4 separate regions of the Homo sapiens genome follow, and regions 1, 2 and 4 are each linked to region 3. The links are contacts of gene promoters, found by promoter capture Hi-C in human tissues and cell types (Jung and others, 2019). All regions are on one chromosome and are shown on one strand. Each heading gives the region's core, a stretch centred on a gene start or on the middle of the fragment in contact. The rest is flanking DNA. Distances are from core to core; before and after follow the strand shown.

What was found. Contacts are between HindIII fragments. The study calls those that stand out against the background at their distance.
Region 1: a contact is called between a fragment that was not itself captured here and the fragment with the promoter of SNF8 in region 3, in 1 of the 25 tissues and cell types used here (lymphoblastoid cells).
Region 2: a fragment that was not itself captured here is called in contact with the fragment with the promoter of SNF8 in region 3 in 1 of the 25 tissues and cell types used here (spleen).
Region 4: a contact is called between a fragment that was not itself captured here and the fragment with the promoter of SNF8 in region 3, in 11 of the 25 tissues and cell types used here (IMR-90 fibroblasts, adrenal gland, dorsolateral prefrontal cortex and 8 more).

What each region holds. Positions count from the first base shown.
Region 1 is chr17:48,737,578-48,742,766 of GRCh38, forward strand. All of the region lies in intron 2 of LOC105371811 (a long non-coding RNA gene), which reads left to right. Among named protein-coding and RNA genes, the nearest start is that of HOXB13, 11 kb to the left of the region's middle. The HindIII fragment of the contact is 8,003 bases long and covers 1-5,189 here.
Region 2 is chr17:48,791,096-48,796,746 of GRCh38, forward strand. It overlaps TTLL6 (tubulin tyrosine ligase like 6), which reads right to left. Exons shown (of 16, transcript NM_001130918.3): 8 at 4,966-5,051; 9 at 283-508. Among named protein-coding and RNA genes, the nearest start is that of TTLL6, 23 kb to the right of the region's middle. The HindIII fragment of the contact is 6,945 bases long and covers 1-5,477 here.
Region 3 is chr17:48,941,543-48,946,877 of GRCh38, forward strand. SNF8 (SNF8 subunit of ESCRT-II) reads right to left here and starts at 3,300. Exons shown (of 8, transcript NM_007241.4): 1 at 3,139-3,300; 2 at 2,383-2,433. The coding sequence starts at 3,192. RefSeq lists a silencer at 3,013-3,242. The HindIII fragment of the contact is 34,253 bases long and covers 1-5,335 here.
Region 4 is chr17:48,809,066-48,814,613 of GRCh38, forward strand. The region is part of intron 1 of TTLL6 (tubulin tyrosine ligase like 6); the gene reads right to left. LOC105371813 (a long non-coding RNA gene) reads left to right here and starts at 3,175. Exons shown (of 4, transcript XR_001752926.1): 1 at 3,175-3,294; 2 at 3,995-4,022. The HindIII fragment of the contact is 4,960 bases long and covers 660-5,548 here.

The sequences.
Region 1 (5,189 bases), core at 2,343-4,842, 200 kb before region 3:
GAGAGAAAGAAAGAAAAAGAAAGAAAAGAAAAGAAGGAAGGAAGGAAAGAAGGAAGGAAGGAGAATCCTTCTATGAAATCCTTAATTAGGGCTCTCTGCTTAGGGGATATGTAGAGCTCCCCACCTTTCCCTTCTCTTAAAGAGCAGAGAGCTCCAAATTCCCTGGCTCCCCAAACTAGTCAGTTGGTGTTTGGGGTTAGGAGAATCCTTGGAGATCATGCAGTGCTAGCAAGCTTTGTACTTGGGTAGCTGGGTGGCAGATGCCTTGGCAAGTTTGCTGTCTTGCCCAATTCAGAGAGAAATGACCTCAGGCAACCCATGGCCAGTTCTGTGGTACCAGGCAGCTCTGAGCTACTGAAGTGGGAGCAGGAGAAGAAATAAAGAATACAAAAGGCAGACAGCTATGGCAGCTGGATGCAGTTTTAGAGTTTCTGGTGATGCCCTGACTGTTCTCCATGCCTGCCCCAGGAGAATCCAAAAAGTCAGGCAGTCCGGGACTTGTGTATGTGGAAGCTCACACATTCAGGATGTTGTTCTGGTTCCAGCTCAATGTCCACTAAGTCCTAAGGACTCAAAGCTTGGTCACAAGGGTAGCCCCTCCCAGGCTGAAAAACTGCTGGTCTAGCTCTGTGAGGCAAGGCCAGGGCTCCCCGTTTCTTAATTTCGAGGTGAACCTGGAAACTTTCCCTAGAAATGGTGCTTAGCCCCAGAGACAGGTTGGGGAGCTGGGGAAGAACCATGGGAAGCAAACCCTGGTCTCTCCATGCCCTCCACCCTCTCAATAACCTGTCCGGCCCAGACCCAGCCCAGATCTCCAGCTGCCTTGGGTGGGGGATGCAGATAGAGATTGTGGGGGCAGGGGTGCTCTCTGCCCTGGAATTGGAATCCCCCACACCAGTCTACCGGTAGATTCTGCTTCCTTTGCCCCTTTATCCTCCACCCCCATCTGCATGGTTTTTCTAGCCTCGGGAATCACCTGCCCTGGGAGTGCAGGCCAAGCTTTGGACGAGGGAAAGCACAGACTGACGCCGACCAGCCCATCCTCCCCGGCCTTGCACTGCCCGAGATCCGTGCAGGTCAAGCGGGCAAGGTGGGACGCTCTCAGGTGGGAGAATTCATAGGAATTAAGGGGAACCCACTAACTCTTCATCAAGACTAGAGGCCAGCCTAAAGAATTTTCCCCCTTTTTGTCCCAGAGACATTCTTTCCTTCCTTCTGCGTGTGTAAACACACCTGGTCGGGCAGATTTTTCAGTAATCCCAATACTGAGTCACCTCACCGGCCGGGGTTTACTCCCCAGCTCCTGGATGGTAAAGCGCCCTGCGGCCCGCGGGTCAGGTCTTTAACGGTCCAGCCAGCGCAGCAAGAGAGCTGGGGAGTCTTCTTGCAGTCCCTTCCTCCTACTCACGCAAAGATCTCCTCTATGCTGGTAGGTGCACCTGCCCTCCACCGATCCTCACCCTGAGCGCAGGTCGTACCTCAAGGCGAAAACCCGCTTAGTGCGTTGGCGGGTGGAGAGCTGCCGCCTTCTTGATCCGGGACTGAGAAGCTGCACTCCCTGACGCCACTGTGGCCAGCACCTCGGGCCGCGCAGACCCCTACATCTCTAATCCCATAGCCCTCCAGGGGTCCTTGGGGCAGTCCCTTTGGAAAGTCTTCGAAGTGCAGGGTACTTTAAGTACCCTGTAGACGCCTTTTATTTAATCCGCACAACAAAAGAACGGGGCAGGAGTGGGGGGAAATTGTTACTTCCGTTTTGTAGATAAGAGAACTGAGCCGGGACGGTGGCTCACGCCTGCAGTCCCAGCACTTTGGGAGGCCAAGGCCGGCGGATCGCTTGAGCCCAGGAGTTCCAGATCAGCCTGGCTTGAACCCTGAATTTCTGTTGAATCCGAAGTTGGATGGTGCAGTGAGCCGTGATTGCGCTGCTGCACTCCAGCCAGGGAGACAGAGGGAGAACCAGTCTCAAAAAAGTAAAAGAAAACAAGAAAGCTGAGGTTTAGGAGATAATTTGTCCAACTTCTAGAGGCAAATCGAGGCTTTATGGCACCAAATCCTGATTCTGATATTTTCACTTCTCTTCCCTCTCCAAACACAAATCGTTGACACATTTTTATTTTATTTTATTTTATTTTATTTTATTTTATTTTATTTTATTTTGACACAGGGTCTCATTCCCTCACCTAGCCTGGAGTGCATTGGCGCGATCTCGACTCACTGCAGCCTCGACCTCCCGAGCTCAAGCAATCCTCCCACTTCAGTCCCCTCAGTAGCTGGGACCACAGGCACTTACCACCACGCCCAGCTAATTTTAAAATTTTTTATAGAGACGAGGTCTCGCCATGTTACCCAGGCTGGTCTCAAACTGCTGAGCTCAAGCGACCCTTCCACCTCAGCCTCCCAAAGTGCTGGGACGACAGGCATGAGCCACTGCAACCGACCATGACAAATTTTAAAATGGAAATAAATTTCATTATATCTCATTAGTATCTCAAACTAATACTAAAAACAGACTTAAGATATTTGGGAAATTATTAAAGGGAAAAGGGAAAAATTAAGGAATTTGGAAAAATCAAAACATGAACTCTAAAATAAAGAAACCCGGCTGGGAGTGGTGGCTCAAGCCTATAATCTCAGCATTTTGGGAGGCCGAGGCAGGTGGATCCTTGAGGTCAGGAGTTCAAGTCCAGCCTGGCCAACATGGTGAAACCCCATCTCTACAAAAATAAATAAATAAATAAATAAATTAGCCGGGCGTGGTGGCATATGCCTGTTGTCCCAGCCACTCGGGAGGCTAAGGCAGGAGAATTGCTTGAACCCGGGTGGCAGAGGTTGCAGTGAGCCAAGATCGTGCCACTGCACTCCAGCTTGGGTGACAGAGTGAGACTCCGTCTCAAAAAATGAAATAAAATGAAGAAAACCCTTTAATACACTGTCATCTTTTTTATCAGTGCCCCCCATGACTTCTAAAACTACAAAAGTGGGAACCAATTTCTGTCCTCTTCCTCCCACCCCATTCCTCCCACCCTGTTTTACTTTGGAGGCTGAGTCCACATGAGTAACAAAGGAGCTATACCTGGCAAATGTTCACCTAGAGTTGAATTGTGGGAGGCTCAAACTCCTCTAATGGCTCTGTTACCCACACTGACAGCAGAAAACTGTCATGTTTGGGTCAACAAGCATGGTTGGGTCAACCTGGTGCCAAAACACCTTCCAAGCCTGTCCCTTCTATGGGGGAAAAAAATGGGTATTTGGTGGGCACTGAGGATTCTGAATTTGATTTTATGGGTGGCTCTCAAAGCCTCACCCTTTAAAATTGAGGGTGAACATTGGTGTACATGTGTGGTTTTTTAGGACATGAGCCTACTGCTTTATTCTTTTCTTTTTCTTGAGACGGAGTCTCGCTCTGTTGCCCAGGCTGGAGTGTGGTGGCGTGATCTCGGCTCACTGCAACCTTCGCCTCCCGAGTTCAAGCGATTCTCCTGCCTCAGCCTCCTGAGTAGTTGGGATTATAGGCACACATCACCATGCCTGGCTAATTCTTGTATTTTTAGTAGAGACAGGGTTTCACCATGTTGGTCAGGCTGGTCTTGAACCCCTGACCTCGTGATCCACCCGCCACAGCCTCCCAAAGTGCTGGGATTACAGGTGTGAGCCACCGTGCCCAGCCTATTGATTTGTTTTCTAATGGCAAATTTTACAGATACAGAAAAGTAAACAAAAAAGTGTAATTCAACCCCTCATACCTATCACTCAGCTTCAACAATAATCAACTCATAGCCCATCTTATTGCATTTCTTTCTGGAGGTTTTTTGTTTCGTTTTGTTTTGTTTTGTTTTGTTTTTTTGAGACAGAGTCTCACTCTGCCTCCCAAGTAGCTGGGACTACAGGCGCCCACCACCACACCTGGCTAATTTTTTGTATTTTTAGTAGAGACAGGGTTTCACCTTGTTAGCCAGGATGGTCTCCATCTCCTGACCTCGTGATCCACCCACCTTGGCCTCCCAAAGTTATGATGAGCACCGGGCTCAGCCTTCTTTCTGGAGTATTTTAAAGCAAATCCCAGACTTCTTTTCTTTTTTTTTCTTTTTTTTTGTTCCAAAATTCTTCAGTTTGAATCTTTAACAGGTTTAAAAAAATTTTTTTTTGTTTTTAGAGATGGATCTTGCTCTGTCACCCAGGCAGGAGTGCAGTGTCACTGAAGCCTTGAACTCCTGGGCTCAAGGGATCCCACGCCTAGGACTACAGGACTACAGGCATGTGCTACCATGCCTGGGTACATTTTTTTTTTTTTGGTCGAGACGGGGGTTCCCAGATGGGTCTCAAACTCCCTTGTTCAAGTGATCTGCCTCTTTGGCTTCCCAAAGTGGTGGGATTATAGGCATGAGCCACTGCGCCCAGCCTAGTTTTATTTTATTTTTTGTAGAGACAAGGTCTCGCTTGTTGCCCAGGCTGGTCTCTAAACTCCTGGCCTCAAGGGATCCTCCAACCTTGGCCTTTTGAAGTGTTGGGATTATGGGCGTAAGCCACTCTTCTTTTGCTTTTTTTATATATAACCTTTATGTGATTGTCACACAGGACAAAATTGAGAATAATTCCTTAATACTATCCATGTTTGAATTTCCTAAGTTTTCTCAAAAATGTCTTTTTACAGTTAGTTTAAGTCAGGATCTAAACAAAGTTCATACATTACATTTGCTTGATGTCTCTCAACTGTCTTATAACCTATAACAATTGCTCCCAATCCATTTTTCATGCCATTACTTTATTTAAAAACCTGGGCCAACCCAGTTCTCAAAAGGTATTGGACATCCTCAGAAAAGATGACTGCTCTATGTTGAACCAAACAACTGATTCTTACAGGTTTCTTCCTCACTTGTCCTCTGGCTGTGGCAGCCAGATATGGACAGGAGAGCTACATCCTTCCCTCCACTCCCTGCCAAAGAAAGGAGAGCTGGGATAAGCAGTGCCCTCCCCTGCCCACCCACTATGTCACTTTCTGACTCCCTTTGGTCCCCTCATTGCTCTTGGAGTGAGAGACCTCATTCCTTCTCTCACTGGAGGCAGCCAAGAATGGGATCCTCTGGTGGGTCTTTGGATTATGTAAGTTTCAAACACTGGATACACAGCTCCAGATCTAAAGGCAAGATTGCTGCTCTAGAGGCAGGACTGTTCATTTCCTGCCTTGG
Region 2 (5,651 bases), core at 755-3,254, 150 kb before region 3:
ACAAAAGATCGAGCTGTCTTTAGAATCACTCTGTGCCTAAGATCAGCACTTCCTTGTCTAAGAGGACCTCAAGAAGGCAAAGGAATTCTCTAATTCCCAGCTGTCTACCCCCCTCTGGTGGCCACTTCTCAGCTAAGAGAGAAGCCCCAGGCAGCAGGCACCATGGGAGGAAGTGGCCTGGGAAGTTGAAACAATTTAGGTGAGCCAGGAGGGCGGAATCCTTGAAGCGGGCTGGCCCCAATAACAGGAGTTCGTTTTCGCCCCTCGCCCAAACTTCCCTACCTCCAGCAGCCAGGGTTTGAGTTTGTGGTCCAACAAAATGTCAAAGCCCAGGATCTCAAAGCAGGCGCTGTTGAGTGTGTGGTTGGGGAAGCAGGTGTGGTAGTTATGCCTGATGATGGGGTGGGCCGAGATGAGGGTCTTGATGATGACGTCCTCAATATCCCTCCATATCTGCTCCACGTTGTAGCTGTGGTCCTCCAAGTATGCACTGAAGGTGGAGAGCTTCCTGGAAGGGAACCACAGGCCAGGAGGCAGTGTAGCTGGCTTCTGGTCACCCGAGGCCATGGCATGCTGGAAACCAGAAACTCCTGGCGGAGACAAGGCTCCAGAGCCAGCGAGGATGAACGCCCAGGAACCAGGGTGACACCTGGGCTGTGTCGGTGCCAGATGAGGTCCCAGGAATCCCAGGACCACACCCTCCAAGTCTCCAGAGCCCCAGGGTGGGTGCAGATGCAGTCACATAGGACATGGTCAGGACACTTTCACTTTCACTGTGACCCAGAAAACATCTATCAGCAGGGGAAGGGATGAGTCAAGAAAACCCCCTGACACCATGGTTTTACTTTGGCAGCAATGATTCCTCAGCCTTTGGTGTTCATTAGAAGCATGTGGGCAGCCTTTTAAGAACACTGATGCCTGGGTCCCACCTCAGCCATCTGAGGGGATTCTAGGGACACTAATGACACAGAAAACTTGTTTTAGGGCTGCCCACAAGGAAAAGGCACCCAAGGGCATGTCCACAGATAAGGTTACCAACTGTGCCAGGCAAACTGGACTGTCCCAGTTTTAGAATTGCAAGTCCTGAATTCCAGGAAACCCCTCAGTCGTGGGCAAACGGAGACAGCTGGTCACCTGATCACAGATGAACTCAGAGATGTTTACCTCATGTGGAATAGTTCATGAGGAAATACCTGAGTGGGTACTCAGCCAGCTCTGAGCTGGGCATTACAGAGAGAGGATGGATGTCACAAATCCAAGAGGCAGTGGTGGGGACAGACATTTGCCACCTCACATGCACACAAATGTGCACAGACAGCCAAAGTGGAAGTGGCAGTGTGGAAGGAGGAGGTGCAGGGGAGTGAACAGCAGAAAGAATGAAAAAGACAAGAGACACGGCTCATCCAGGCAGTTTCAAAAGCTCACTAGATCCCAGCCCAAGGGGTCAAGAAGGAGGAAGCAGGGTCAGCCAGACAATGAGCATTTGATAAGGGCCTTTGGTGCATGCAAAGCCTCATGCAAGGAGGGGACACTAGAAACTGTCACCTCTGTCATGGGAAGCCTCAGGACCATTCAGGGAGTCAACACACATGTGAAACAACCAAGGATGCATTTATATAAAGACAGATAAGCAAAGGATACTCAATATAGAGGCCACCTCCTCCACCTGCCATTGTCAGAAAACAGTGTTGCACATAAATGGATTTTCCAGATCGCTTTAAGCCAATTTTTTTCAAGTGGAGAAAATGTATTTAATTTGCCTAATTGGGAAATAAATTTTCCTGAAATAGATTATACACCTCCCTGGCAACATATAACATAACCTTTTCTTGATGACTCAGGCTCATCACAATGAATATACTTCATTGTGTAATTTCATAATGCCCAGTGGTAAGTCAATTCAATTTAATACCAGCCATGTGCTGAGCACACTGAAAGATGAAGATGGCTTGGTGTCTGCCCCAGAATCCTGCCAGGTTTTCAGGTTTCCTGTCTTCTCCTTCACTGTGACCGCAGCACTACTCCTGAGTTTGTGCGCCAGTGGGGTATTGACAGGGAGGGCAGTTGACCTCAAACGCCAACTTTGGGACAGATGAGACAGTCAGTATGAGAAGAAGATTGTCTCAAAAGATGGAGAGGAGGAAGAGGAAAGGAGAAACAAGATGGGAGGGAGAGGAGGAAAGATGAACTCTGCCCAGCACTATGGGAAGAACCCCAAAGGCCAGGGCACCATTGTAACCCTCAAGGAGCAAAGTACAACTAGGGACAAAAGACAAATGTGCACTGGGCAAAGAATAGTTATGGGCGATGGCTGATGTTGACCATGAGGGTTGTAAAAATACAAAAAATTGGCCAAGCATGGTGGTGGGCGCCTGTAATCCCAGCTACTTGAGAGGCTGAGGCAAGAGAATCGCTTGAATCCGGGAGTCGAAACTTTTGCAGTGAGCCGGGATCGCGCCATTGCACTCCAGTCTGGGGTGACAAGAGCAAGATTCCGTCTCAAGAAAAAAAAAAAAAAAGACAGTGCCCTGTCCATGAAGTGGATGGCACGGGCAGCATGGCTTAGTGGGTAAGGGCACCAACTCGGGGGTCAGGCAGCCCTGGTTTCAATCCCAGCTTCCTAGCTGTGCGACCCAGGTAAGTTACTTAACTTTTTCACACCTCAGTTTCCTAATATGCAGAATAGGGATGATGATAATGCTGACTTCATAGTGTTGTTGTGAGGAGGATTAAGTGGGTTCAAGTATGTAAATTATCACTAGGAAAAGAAATGTCCAAGCTCTCCACCCCTGGAGATGAGAAGGTAGAGATGGGGAAGTTGGGCAGGGAGACCAATTTGGAGTGCTGCGGTGGAGGCAAGGAGAGAGAATACACCCATTCTGGGAAATGCTGAGTTGAAGACGTCCAGGTGGAACTGAGGAGAGATGGACCTGGAGCCCAAGGGAGACAGGCTGAGCCCAGCAAGGGCAGGCGGAGGCCACGGGGGCACACGGCTGCTCCAGGAGAGAGTGGATGGAGAAGTACAGTGGGGTGAGAGGGAGATGAACAGAGGAAGAGGACAGGGGAAATGGAAGAGGCAGAACAACACTTGAAGCCTTGCAACCTCACCTTAGTTCTGCTACCCCGAGACACCCCTCCATCACAGCCGAGGGCCCAGGGCCTGCTGTTGGGGTGCCAATTCTCATTGGAGGAGGAAAATGAGAACCTTTCCATTCTGTGCCCTTAGACTAAGGAAAAATGACAGTAACCACGCACACTGTCTGTGTTGCCATCACAAGTCATTTGAACCTCACAGAGACCCTGTGAGGTGGCAGGGCAGGGCAGGGAGTCTCATCACGTTCATCCTCCAGACCAAGAAGTGCAGGCTCAGAGAGATGAAGTAACTTGTCCAAGCCTAGTTGGCAAGTGTCGGAGCCGGGACTACAAACTAGACCTCCCAGAGTGCCACGCTCAGAACGCAGCAATGCAAGAGGCCCAGCTGATGCCCACAGCCCAGGTGGGGAGGAGAGGAGGAAGTCGCAGAGCTTCAGGCAGCACAGGTGGCTGACATCTTCTGGAAAAGGGGGAGACTGCCTCCCACCAGCCTTCCACATCCCCTTTAAGCAGCCTTAACTTAGCGATTTTCTGTGTGCTTTTTGGAATGCTGCCACTGAGGGGGTCATGAACTGTCACATGCCTCTCTGATGGTCTGAAGCCAAACTAATTGCCTGTTCAGAGGTCCTTTGAAGCCTGGTGCAGCGGAAAGAGAATGAGCTCTGGGGTCTAACAGACCTCGCTTCTCCACCCAGTCTAGCAGTCACAGCTGCGGGACCTGGGGCAACTCACGCAACCTCTGAGACTCAGTTTCCTCATCTGTAAGATGGAGATGGCACCTAACTCACAGTTCTCCACCTACAGAGGGCAGATAGTAATGCCTTTGCCATAGTGTTGCTGTGAAAAATTCAAGAATAGGCCGGGCGCGGTGGCTCACGCCTGTAATCCCAGCACTTTGGGAGGCTGAGGTGGGAAGATCACGAGGTGAAGAGATCATGACCATCCTGGCCAATATGCTGAAACCCTGTCTCTACTAAAAATACAAAACTTAGCGGAGTGTGGTGGCACATGCCTATAGTCTCAGCTACTTGGGAGGCTGAGGCAGGAGAATTGCTTTAACCCGGGAGGCAGAGGTTGCAGTGAGCCAAGATCGCACCACTGCACTCCAGCCTGGCGACAGAGCAAGACTCAGTCTCAAAAGAAAAAAAAAAAAAAGAAAAGAAAAGAAAAATTCAGCAATAAAAAATGCACAGAAAGCACCAAGCACAGACCCCAACACACATGAAGCCTCAGAAATACTTGCTCCTTTTCCCTTTCCTCCTTCACCTGGTCAAGTTCACATTCTTCAGTCCCCCGTTTTCTTAAAACTCAAATGAGACCCGATTAGACAATAACAGGAATGGAAAAGCCTCTCGTGAAGATACTCTCATGAACTGCTCTCAATTTCCCCCCTTCTGAGGAATCTTCAAGCCGGCTAGCCACATGTCAGGGCACTGTGACACATCATTTGAGAATCTCTAATGGAGCAACGTCCAGGGGAACATGGGCCAAGCAATGACTGCCTGGCAAGTCCTTCTCACGTGGCAGACTAGCGATCAATAAATATCTGTTGATTTGGAAATATCAGAAGGGCCAACTGTAATAAGGGTATGTTTTGGTGTGTGTATATATTCTGCTGGGGAAACAGCTCATGTTTATCTCTCCTCCTCCCAGCCTCCCAGGGTTTACGATGGGGCCTTCTTTTAATGATTAACAGCCAAGAGGGCAGAGATGAAGGAATTTGTTCTGGGTTGCGAGGCAAAGGAGTATATTCTCAGACCATGTGACCCAAGATGGAAACACTGATGGGGACTAACAGGGTTTGGGTAGAATCCCAGAAAGCAGTTCTGAGGTTGGTAGGGAAAGGAAAGAAAAATGAAGCCTCTTCCTTACCTCTTACTGCCAGAGTGTGCATCTCGACTGAAATTTGAACTGTGCTTATTAATGGAATAATTAGTCAGGTGCATGCAGATATCATCCTGGGGAAAAAGACACACATCTGTCGGGTCAGCTCGGAAGGGCAGGCCCCCTGCTTCCTCTCTGTGCCCTCCCATGGCCCCTGGGGCTTGAAGGGATGGAAAGAAAGGGAAGTTTTAGGGCTTATTTAGTGTGGCAAAATACAGGAAGTAAGAAGGGGTGTCCTGCAGCCTCGAGCCTAAGAAACTCCAATTCTGCTGGGCGTGGTGGCTCATGCCTGTAATCCCAGCACTCTGGGAGGCTGAGGCAGGCAGATCACGAGGTCAGGAGTTCAAGACCAGCCTGACCAACATGGTGAAATCCCATCTCTACTGAAAATACAAAAATTAGCCGGGGATGTGGTGCACACCTGTAATCCCAGCTACTTAGGAGGCTAAGGTAAGAGACTCGCTTGAACCCAGGAGGCAGAGGTTGCAATGAGCCGAGATCATGCCACTGCACTCCAGCCTAGGCGACAAAGCGAGACTCCATCTCAAAAAAAAAAAAAAGAAACTCCAGTTCTTTCTGAGATTGGGTGGTGCCCAGCCTGAGAAAAACTTCAGGAGTCCTGGGGGTCCAGGAAAGGTGGGGATGGCAGGGTTGCTCATCCACGGCCTTTTCTC
Region 3 (5,335 bases), core at 2,050-4,549:
GTGAAGCGTCACATGAATCTGTTTATAACCTTTGAGTCTGGCCAGGAATGGTGGCTCACACCTGTAATCCCACAACGGATCACTTGAGCCCAGGAGCTCAAGATTAGCTGGGGCAACATAGCAAGACTGTCTCAATCAATCAATATTTTTTTTTTTTAATTTTTTTGAGACAGAATCTTGCTTTGTCGCCCAGGTTGGAGTGCACTGGCACAATCTCAGCTCACTGCAACCTTCGCCTCCCAGTTCAAGTTGATTCTCTTGCCTCAGCCTCCCGACTAGTTGGGACGACAGGCATGCACCACCACACCTGGCTAATTTTTGTATTTTTAGTGGAGACAGGGTTTCATCATGTGGGCCAGGCTGGTCTCAAATTCCTGACCTCAAACAGTCCATCTGTCTCAGCCTCCCAAAGTGCTGGGATTACAGATGTGAGCCACCGCACAGGGCCAATCAATCAATCAACCAATATAAATTAAAAAAACAAAAAACTTTTGAGTCATGAACCTCCCTGGGGATCAACTCCAGATAAAGAACTGCTCTGGGACTGTAATTTGCCAGATTCCATTTCATGTTAAATACAAAAGACTTGGGGATTTTCTGACTTTGTATTACCCCTTCTCTTTTCCTAATTAACAAGGACCATCTTCTATCCCACCAAAAATAAGCACTCCTAGCCCAATATTTATTTCTCATATAAAACTGTTAGAAACCTCCACATTCTTAGGCGGAGGTTGCAGTGAGCCAAGATCACGCCACTGCACTCCAGCCTGGGCAACAAGAGCGAAACTTGGTCTCAAAAAAAAAAAAAAAAGAAACCTCCACATATTTTAATCACCATTTTCAGTTGATTCCTGCATGCCATCTCCCCTGTGAGTGGGTGCTTTTGAAGAGCACAGCCTGGGTTTACTATTTTTCCTCAGCTCACAGCCCCATTTTCCTGCTTAACGGCTTCCTCCACTTCTTCCCCAATCACAATCACTGGGTAAACTCGGAGCACGTACAGAGAAGGGAAGGGCTGGAAAAGAAAACTGCACAGGAGCTGCACCCCCCATCACTCACACACTGTCCTGGTATGTGCCTAGATGTCATGATGGTGGTGTGGGTGCCACAGGTTAGGCAATATTTTCATTTTATTCTGAGGTATTTAAAATGAAAAGCCCCAGAGGACCTAAATCAATAACAGCTCTACCACTTACTACCCATATAACCTTGGATATATTACTTAACACCCCAGTGTCCTCAATTTCTGCCCACCTCGGCCTCCCAAAGTGCTGGGATTACAGGCGTTAGCCACCGCACCCGGCCTTTTTTTTTTTTTTTTTTTTTTTTTTGCTTTTTTTTGAGATGGAGTCTTGCTCTGTCCCCCAAGGTGGAGTGCAGTGGCATGATCCTGGCTCACTGCAACCTCTGTCTCCTGGGTTCATGCAATTCTCCTACCTCAGCCTCCCCAGTAGCTGGGACTACAGGAGCCCGCCACCACGCCCGGCTAATTTTTGTATTTTTAGTAGAGACGGGGTTTCGCCATGTTGGCCAGGCTGGTCTCGAACTATGGACCTCTGGTGATCAGCCTTCCTCAGCTTCCCAAAGTGCTGGGATTACAGGCATATGCCACAGCACCCGGCTCTCAATTTTAAACTCAGAATATGGCCGGGCGCGGTGGCTCACGCCTGTAGTCCCAGCACTCTGGGAGGCCGAGGCGGGTGGATCACCTGAGGCCAGGAGTTTGAGACCAGCCTGGTCAATATGGCGAAACCCTGCCTCTACAAAAAAAAATAACAAAAATTAGGGCCCGGCACAGTGGCTCACGCCTTTAATTCCAGCACTCTGGGAAGCCAAGGTGGGCGGATCACGAGGTCAAGAATTTGAGACCAGTCTGACCAACATGGAGAAACCCGTCTCTACTAAAAATACAAAAATTACCCAGGCGTGGTGGCGCATGTCTGTAGTTCTAGCTACTCGGGAGGCTGAGGTTGGAGAATCACTTGAACCCAGGAAACGGAGGCTGCAGTGAGCCGAGATCGTGCCACTGTACTCCAGTCTGGGCAACAGAGCAAGACTCCCTCAAAAAACAAACAAACAAACAAACAAACACCTCAGAATAATAGGGTTCCTTCCTTATGGGACTGTAATGAGGATTGAACAAGACAGTCTATGTAAAGAAAATAGACAAATGCCTGGGACGTTACAAGCATGTAATCACTCAAAGATGTTAGCCATTATTGTTATTAGCAAGTCACCTAAAAGATCTCAGCGGCTCAGAAATCAAAATTTGCCAAACACCCTATTTCTAGTTCAATCTACACAATCAAGTTCGTATCCAAGGTGTCTTGGCCAGACCTGGTTAGGTCTCCCTCCCTGCCTGGGGCCCCCCAACCGACTTACCTGGGCTAGCTGGTCCTCAGCCAAGACCGTCCCTCGCTCCTTATACTTGGCCTGTCAGACAAAGAGACCAGCATAAGTTAAGAGAGTGGGCGCTGGAGGCCAGGCGCGGTGGCTCACGCCTGTAATCCCAGAACTTTGGGACGCCGAGGCGGGCGGATCACGAGGTCAGGAGATCGAGCCATCCTGGCTAACACAGTGAAACCCCGTCTCTACTAAAAATACAAAAAAATAGCCGGACGTGGTGGTGGGCGCCTGTAGTCCCAGCTACTCAGGAGGCTGAGGCAGGAGAACGGCGTGAACCCTGGAGGTGGAGGTTGCAGTGAGCCGAGATCGCGCCACTGCACTCCAACCTGGGCGACAGAGCAAGACTCTGTCTCAAAAAACAAAACAAAACAAAAAAACACAGAGTGGGCGCTGGGTTCCCCCATTTGTGCTGCCACAGCTTTGGGATGAAAAGAGGAGGATCTCTGTAAATTGTTTTCTTAGGGAGAAGGATAGGGTGAAGGAGTAGAATCGACGACTGTAGATTTGTGAGTAGAATCCCATTTGTAGTTAAACTTGGGTAAATGGGAGAAAGGGCTGGGCATCTGGGAACGCTGCCAATCCACCGGAAGCTGGAGAAATTCTGTGTCCCGGGGCCGAGAAGCCAGTCTCAGATTCTGTTGGGAGGTGATTAACGGGTAGGACACTGCTCCGGGACAATTCAGTCTCGCACGGGTCAGGGGCAGGTTGTGGGTCGGCCTTCTTCCTGCTCACCTCTGCAAGTTTCTTCTTGGCGATGGCGCCAGCTCCCACCCCGCGGCGGTGCATCCCCACCCTGGGCCCGCGGGCCGCCCGGCTGCCGGGACCCCGGGTCTCCACGTCCCGGACTCCGCCGCCGGCTCCCCAAGGCGGAAGCCCGAGCCGCGCGTCATCTGCACGCGCCGGAAGCCACGAGCCGCATTTCCTGCCGCGAGGCTGAGTGTCTCCAGTTCCTACCGGCCCGGCGACCCCGCCTTTAGCTAGTGGCCAAGATTCGCAAAGCCTCGCGGCGAGGAAAGCACGAGTATTCAAGCGCGGCTGAGGCCCTCCTTGGCTAGTGCTGGGACATGGAGCCCCGGCAGCCAAGGCCAACCTTGTGCATTCCACCCACGTAGGCGCCTGGGGCCCTGGTCTTCCTCGACTGCCTCTCCACTGCCTGGAGGTCATCAAATGCCCCTGGACCACCTCCTACGTGCCACACGCTGTGTTGGCCATCCAAGGTTCCATATTGAGCATAAAACAGCCCTCTGCCCTAAAGGAGTTAACCTGTTGGAATCACATACAAAGGATTCTGACTACCAAGCGCCTTGAAGTTAAGTTGAACTCTGAAGACAGATTGCCTGGCTACAAAGCTCAGTTCCACTACATATGGTCCAGGAACTTAAGACAAATTATTTTAATGTCTTTATGTTTCACTATCCGCTGTAGTGAAATAGAATAATACCTACTCATGGCCTGACGCGGTGGCTCAAGCCTGTAATCCCAGCACTTCGGGAGGCTGAGGCGGGCGGATCACCTGAAGTTAGGAGTTCGAGACCAGCCTGGTCAACAAGACGAAACCCCGTCTCTACTACAAATACAAAAAAATTAGCAGGGCGTGGTGGTGCGCATCTAATCCCAGGTACTCGGGAGGCTGAAGCAGAAGAATCGCTTGAACCCAGGAGGCGGAGGTTGCAGTTAACCAGGATCGCGCCATTGCACTCCAGCATGGGCAACAAGAGCGAGACTCCGTCTCAAAAAAAAAAAAAAAAAAAAAAAAGCAGTAAATTATATAGTGCAATGCCTGGCACACAAATAAATATCATTTATGATTGTTATTCATTGTTTGAGATAAAATCAGTCATCTGTAGCCGGGCGCGGTAGCTCACACCTGTAATCCCAGTACTTTGGGAGGCCGAGGCGGGTGGATCACGAGGTCAGGAGTTCAAGACCAACCCGGCCAAGATGGTGAAACTCCGTCTCTACTAAAAATACAAAAAATTAGCCGGGCGTGGTGGCTGGTGCCTGTAATCCTAGCTGCTCGGGAGGCTGTAGCAGAGAATTCCTTGAACCTGGGAGGTAGAGGTTGCAGTGAGCAGAGATCTTGCCAATGCACTCCAACCTCGGTGACAGAGTGACTCCATCTCAAAAAAAAAAAAAAAGGAAAAAAACGAAAAAGACCCAGGTTCCTTAAGCGAACCAGGAGGTGGTAGTTAGGCTTCTCCACATGGAAACCCCTTAGTTTCACTGGCCATGGCCAAAAACCTGCAGTTGCTTCCATGTTTGGGCGCTGCCCACCAACGGTCCTGGGTTGGAAAGGAAGACAGAGAGAGGGAGAGATTCCCCTTTATGGAGTAGAAAGGAAAAGGAAAAAGGGGGAAAATAAATCCCAAACTTTGGGCTTACATTTTCCTCCTGGCTGGCTCGCCAAAATATGTTAACGGTGGAGGGTGTTCCAGGTTCTTGGGGTTTTGCACAAACAACTGGACAAAACGCACAAACAAAGCAAGGAAGGAATTAAGGGATTTATTGAAAATGAAAGTAGCACGGGCGCGGTGGCTCACGCCTGTAATCCCAGCACTTTGGGAGGCTGACCCAGGTGGATCACTTGAGGTCAGGAGTTCGAGACCAGCCTGGCCAACATGGTAAAACCCTCTATCTACTAAAAAAAATGCAAAAGTAGACAGATGTGTTGGCTCACACCTGTAATCCCAGCTACTTGAGAGGCTGAGGCAGGAGAATCACTTCAACCCGGGAGGCCGAGGTTGCAGTGAGCCAAGACCACACCATTACACTCCAGCCTGGGCAACAGAAGGAAACTCCATCTCAAAAAAAAAAAAAAAAAAAGCAAAGAAAAGAAAACTCAGCTGGGCGTCGTGGCTCATGCCTGTAATCCCAGCAATTTGGGAGGCCGAGGCGGATGGATCACCTGAGGTCGGGAGTTCAAGACCAG
Region 4 (5,548 bases), core at 1,890-4,389, 130 kb before region 3:
TCATATTCATGCTCCCATTGAATGCTTACAATGAGAGGGATGGCAGAATTGTTACGTCAGCCAAGGATTGCCACTTGTTTCTTTCTCTTTCTGAAGAGGGCTGCCACTTATAGGCAAGACCCTTTATGGTGACACCAGAGCAGGGGGAGGAAGAGATGTGCTCAGGACAGATAAAACCTGGGTCTTCTGAGTCAATTGTTCCCAGTGAACAGGCACATTCTTGGCAAAGTTCAGGGGAACTAAGGTACTTGAAATCTTGACCTTGGACTACTTCCTTCCTTGAAGGTAAACGGCTAGCTCCACTCCCCTAGCCCTCCGCAACGGCTCCTATGTACCAAGCCCTCAAGGAGGAGTGGCTCTGTTTACCTAAAGGTTAATGTTAACTTGGGGAGAGAAAACTGACCCTGAGTTTGACCTCTAGAAGTGCGGGTTCTCTTTGCTCATTTTTGAGTCCTTGCCTGAGTGGTAAGAACAAGTCATGGCTCCTTCTATGTGTCTGCCTCAAAGAGTAAGCCAGGTGCAGTGGCTCACGCCTGTAATCCCAACATTTTGGGAGGCCAAGGTGAGAGGATTGCTTGAGCCCAGGAGTTCAAAACCCGCCTGGGCAACAAAGTGAGACCCCATCTCTATTAAAAAAAAAATTAGCTGAGTGCAGTGCTGCATGCCTGTAGTCCCAGCTACTCAGGAGGCTGAGGTAGGAGGATTGCTTGAGCCTAAGAGTTTGAGGCAGCAGTGAGCCATGGCTGCACCACTGCACTCCAGCCTGGATGACAGAGACCCTGTCTCAAAAAAAGAAAAGAAAGGCCGGGCGCGGTGGCTCATGCCTGTAATCCCAGCACTTTGGGAGGCCTCAACTGAGGTCGGGAGTTCGAGACCAGCCTGACCAACATGGAGAAACCCCGTCTCTACTAAAAATACAGAAAATTAGCCAGGCATGGTGGTGCATGCCTGTAATCCCACCTCCTCAGGAGGCTGAGGCAGGAGAATTGCTTGAACCTGGGAGGCAGAGATTGCGGTGAGCCGAGATCATGCCATTGTACTCCAGCCTGGACAACAAGAGCGAAACTCTGTCTCAAAAAAAAAAAAAAAAAAAGGAAAAGAAAAGAAAAAAAAGGTCAAATTATGTTTGCTCTTGCATGAGAGGGCCTCATGCATGTAAAGTAAAAAATTGAGCCCATGCACTTTTAGATAAACTGTTTCACCATGGAATTATTGCCTGCATTTCCTCGTATTCTAGGCTGCCTATGACATAAGAGCCATCTTGGATGGTACCCGAGACAGGTGCAAGATGGCAAATGGTACTTGCCATGTGACTACTTTTGCTTTGTCTTTGGCCTCCTTGCTTTCATTTCCCCCAAGCTTCTCTCCCTGTTTAATCTCCAAGGCTGAATCCTGTCTCTCCAAAGATCCTGAAAGAGCATCTCCTTCAAAGTTTGCCTACTGGGGACAGGCATGCTGAATCTAGCTTGCAGAAATGTCTACTTCTGGGGCATAGTAGCGCATACCTATAATCCTAACACTTCGGGAGGCCGAGGTAAGGGAATCACCTGAGCCCAGGAGATTGAGGCTGCAGTGAGCTGTGATCATGCCACTGCGCTCCAGCTGGGCAACAGTGAGACCCTGTCTCAAAAAACAATCAAACAAAAAAACCTATGTGTATATATAGTATGTGTGTATATATATATAGTACATATATACACATATATAGTATGTGTGTATATATATATAGTACATATATACACATATATAGTATGTGTGTGTATATATATATATATATATATATATATATAGTATGTGTGTGTATATATATGTAGTTGCCAACAACTAGAAAATGCAGATTTCCATTTCTTTTGGAGAGGTCTCTATTCCTTCATGCCAGCAATCAACCAGAGCTCAGTAATGCCTCCTGTAGACATTTCCCAGTCTGCCCCAATGCCCAACACTCCTTTTTGTTTCCCTGACACAGGAGCCAAGTGACAGTTATCCTTATATTATTATTTTTCTTTTTTTTTTTTTTTTTTTGAGACAGAGTCTCACTCGTCACACAGGCTAGAGTGCAGTGGCATGATTTCGGCTCACTGCAACCTCTGCTTCCTGGGTTCAAGCGATTCTGTTGCCTCAGCCTCCCGAGTAGCTGGGATTACAGGTGCCTGTCACCATGCCTGGCTAAGTTTTGTATTTTTAGTAGAGAACGGAGTTTTATCATATTGGTCAGGCTGGTCTCAAACTCCTGACCTCAGGTGATCCACCCACCTTGGCCACTCAAAGTGCTGGGATTACTCAAAGCAAGTGTGAGCCACCATGCCCAGCCTATTTTTCTTATAGTAGCATTGAGACATCTCTTTTTTAGAGACATGGTCTTGCTATGTTGCCCAGGCTGGTCTCAAATGCCTGGCCTCAGGAGATCCTCCTGCCTCAACCTTGGAAGTAGCTGGGATTACAACCATGAGCCGCTGTGCCCAGCTCAAGAGAGGTGACATTTTCTTAAACGCAGCCCACTTCTTTCATTTAAACTATATGCCTGACCCTATAGACATCTGAATTTATACCAGTTCTGCTCTAGTATCTCTGGCCTCCAAGCAGTTTCAAGTGAAAACAAAAGCTACTTCCACCAGGGCTGAGCAGAAAGCTTTTTTTTTTTTTTTTTTTTGAGACAGAGTCTTGCTCTGTCACCCAGGCTGGAGTGCAATGGCACGATCCCAGCTCACTGCAACCTCCACCTCCCAGGTTCCAGCTATTCTTCTGCCTCAGCCTCCCAAATAGCTGGGATTACAGGCACCTGTCACCATGCCGGCCTAATTATTTTTGCATTTTTAGTAGAGACGGGGTTTTGCCATGTTGGCCAGGCTGGTTTCAAATTCCTGAACTCAGGTGATCCGCCCACCTCGGCCTCCCAAAGTGTTGGGATTACAGGCGTGAGCCACCACGCCCAGCCAGAAAGCATTTTAATTCCCTGGTTTTCAGAATAAGAATTAAATCTGACCCAGGTGATGCTGGGACCCCCCCCCCCACCCCCCGCTCAGACTTTTCAGATGTGGACTTTATTTGGTTCTACAAGACTTCTCTTAACAGTCTTAGCAACCACTCCCTGCTCACCTGGTAGTTCCCACCTATTGTCTTGCGTAACAATTTTGTTGGTGCCAACACCAAAAGCAGTCTTGTAGCCTTGAGGAATAAAAGGAGGAAAGGCAAAAGACATGGCCTAAGGAGAATACAAAGGAGTGAGGGGAGCTGCTGGTGGCATCCTGAAATATACATACATCATGGTGTAAGGGCCTCTGCCGTCAGCTACAGGTGACTAAGCCACTTATTAAGAGGCAGCTGCAGTGTAGTAGCTAAGAACTCAGATTTCGAAGTCTCTGTCTGGATTTAAATCCCAGCTCTGCCACTTCCTAGTTGTCTGAACTCAGGCAGTTTATTTAACCTCCTGCCTTAGTTTCCTCATCTGTAAAGTGGCTTCTCCCAGTTATGGAGATTAAATGAGTTTACTCATTTGACTTAATGCAACACAAAGTTCTTAGAACAGTGCCTGGCACATAGAAGGTACCCACAAAGTGCTCTCTACCATTACCAGCTGTGTAACCCTGGACTGTGAACTTCCTGATGGAAGAGGCTGTGTCTCTGCATTCTCAGCTCCTAGCAGTGTCTAGAAAAGATACTAAAAATGAGATGTTCATATGCTCCTTGAATTAATGGGCTGGAAGAATGAATAAATGCATGAACTAATTAAGCTTCTCCAAGGTTCATTTTCCTTAGCTATATAACAGAAGTGTTGTTGTGAGCATTAGGTAAGTAACATTTGTTATTTACATTGTTAAAACATCAACCTTGGGTCCTTCTCATATAGCTGGCACTTAAAATGCTTGTTTCATTCACTTACAATAGACTATTGAAAACCCACTTACCAAGTAGCAGACATTACACTAAAGCATTTATAAACATAATGTCTCATCCTCATAATAACCTATCATGGATACTCTTTCCTCTATTACAGATGAGAAGACTGAGACAGAGAGACTAAGGTAAGAGGCACAGCTGGGGTTGGAAGACATGTCCATCTGACCCCACAGCCTGTCTCTCCATGCTCCCCTCACTGCCTTTTCCTCTCGGCAGGCCATCCATAAATAGTGTGACCATAAACTAAAGTAACTGATCTCCTAACTCCCAAAAGCAATCTTAGTGACTTTAGTCTCTTAAGAGTCAGTTGGGGACAGGCACGATGGCTCATGCCTGTAATCTCAGCACTTTCGGAGGCCAAGGTGGGCAGAGCACTTGAGCCAGGGGTTTGACACCAGCCTGGACAACATGGTGAAACCCCACTCTACCAATAAATAAATAAATAAATAAGCCAGGTGTGGTGGCGTGTGCCTGTAGTCCCAGCTACTCAGGAGGCTGAGGTGGGAGGATCACTTTAGCCCGGGAGGCTGAGGTTGCAGCGAGTAGAGATCACACAACTGCACTCCAGCCTGGGAGACAGAACTAGACCTTGCCTCAAAAACAAAAAGAAAAAGAAAAAGAGAAAAATAATCAGTTGGTCCCACATCATTTTCCTTAAAGTCAACTGCTTTAAATTCCCATCTCCAACAAGGGCTTGGATCTCTCCAGATTTGCCATAACCTGGTAACAGCTGTATTGTTTCTACTTGTATTTATTTTCACTCTCTTTCCCTTCTTTTCTCCAATGTCCACATTGTACCAGGGCTCCTATTAAGGGTGTAATTAGAATATTTTCTAAGCTTCTATGGAATTCCTGAATGTTAGAGCTGGGAGGAATCTTTTTAGAGGAGGTTTTGAACTCTCTGCCCTCTGCCAGTCTGTGCTAGGGGAGGGGACTTGTACCCAGCCAGAGAGCAAGAAATCAGAAGCACCATCAAAACCCCAGCTTCCTGGTCCCCAAGTTATCTTCCCATTATGCTGGGTTAGTGGACAGACAAAGTGGACTAAGTGCTTTAGAGAGTTTTTAAAAGACTAAGGCTGGGTGCGGTGGCTCACGCCTGTAATTCCAGCACTTTGGGAGGCCAAGGCAGGTGGGTTACTTGAGGTCAGGAGTTGGAGACCAAGTTGGCAAACATGGTGAAACCCCGTCTCTACTAAAAATACAAAAATTAGCTGGGCATGGTGGCAGGCGCCTGTAATCCCAGCTACTCGGTAGGCTGGGGCAGGAGAATCGCTTGAACCTGGGAGGCGGACGTTGCAGTGAGCCCAGATCGCACCACTGCCCTCCAGTCTGGGTGACAGAGGGAGACAGTGTCTCAAAAAAAAAAAAAAAAAAAAAAAGACTAAGAGCTGTACTACCAATGTAACAAACACAGTAAATAGCAAAATAGCATCTTCAGTTTTTCTTAATGACACAAGAAAGAGCATTGTGTCATTAAGGAAGGGTATTAGTCCACCTTTCCAAGTAGGATATAGTTAAGACACTGAAAAAATTCTCATGTTTCCTTCCATTTTAGTATAGGGTTTGATCTTGAGATCTTCCAAGCCAGAGGCTGTCAACAAGATCCTGGTTAGACAGCACGAAAATGTCCTACATTGGCCACCAGGGGGAG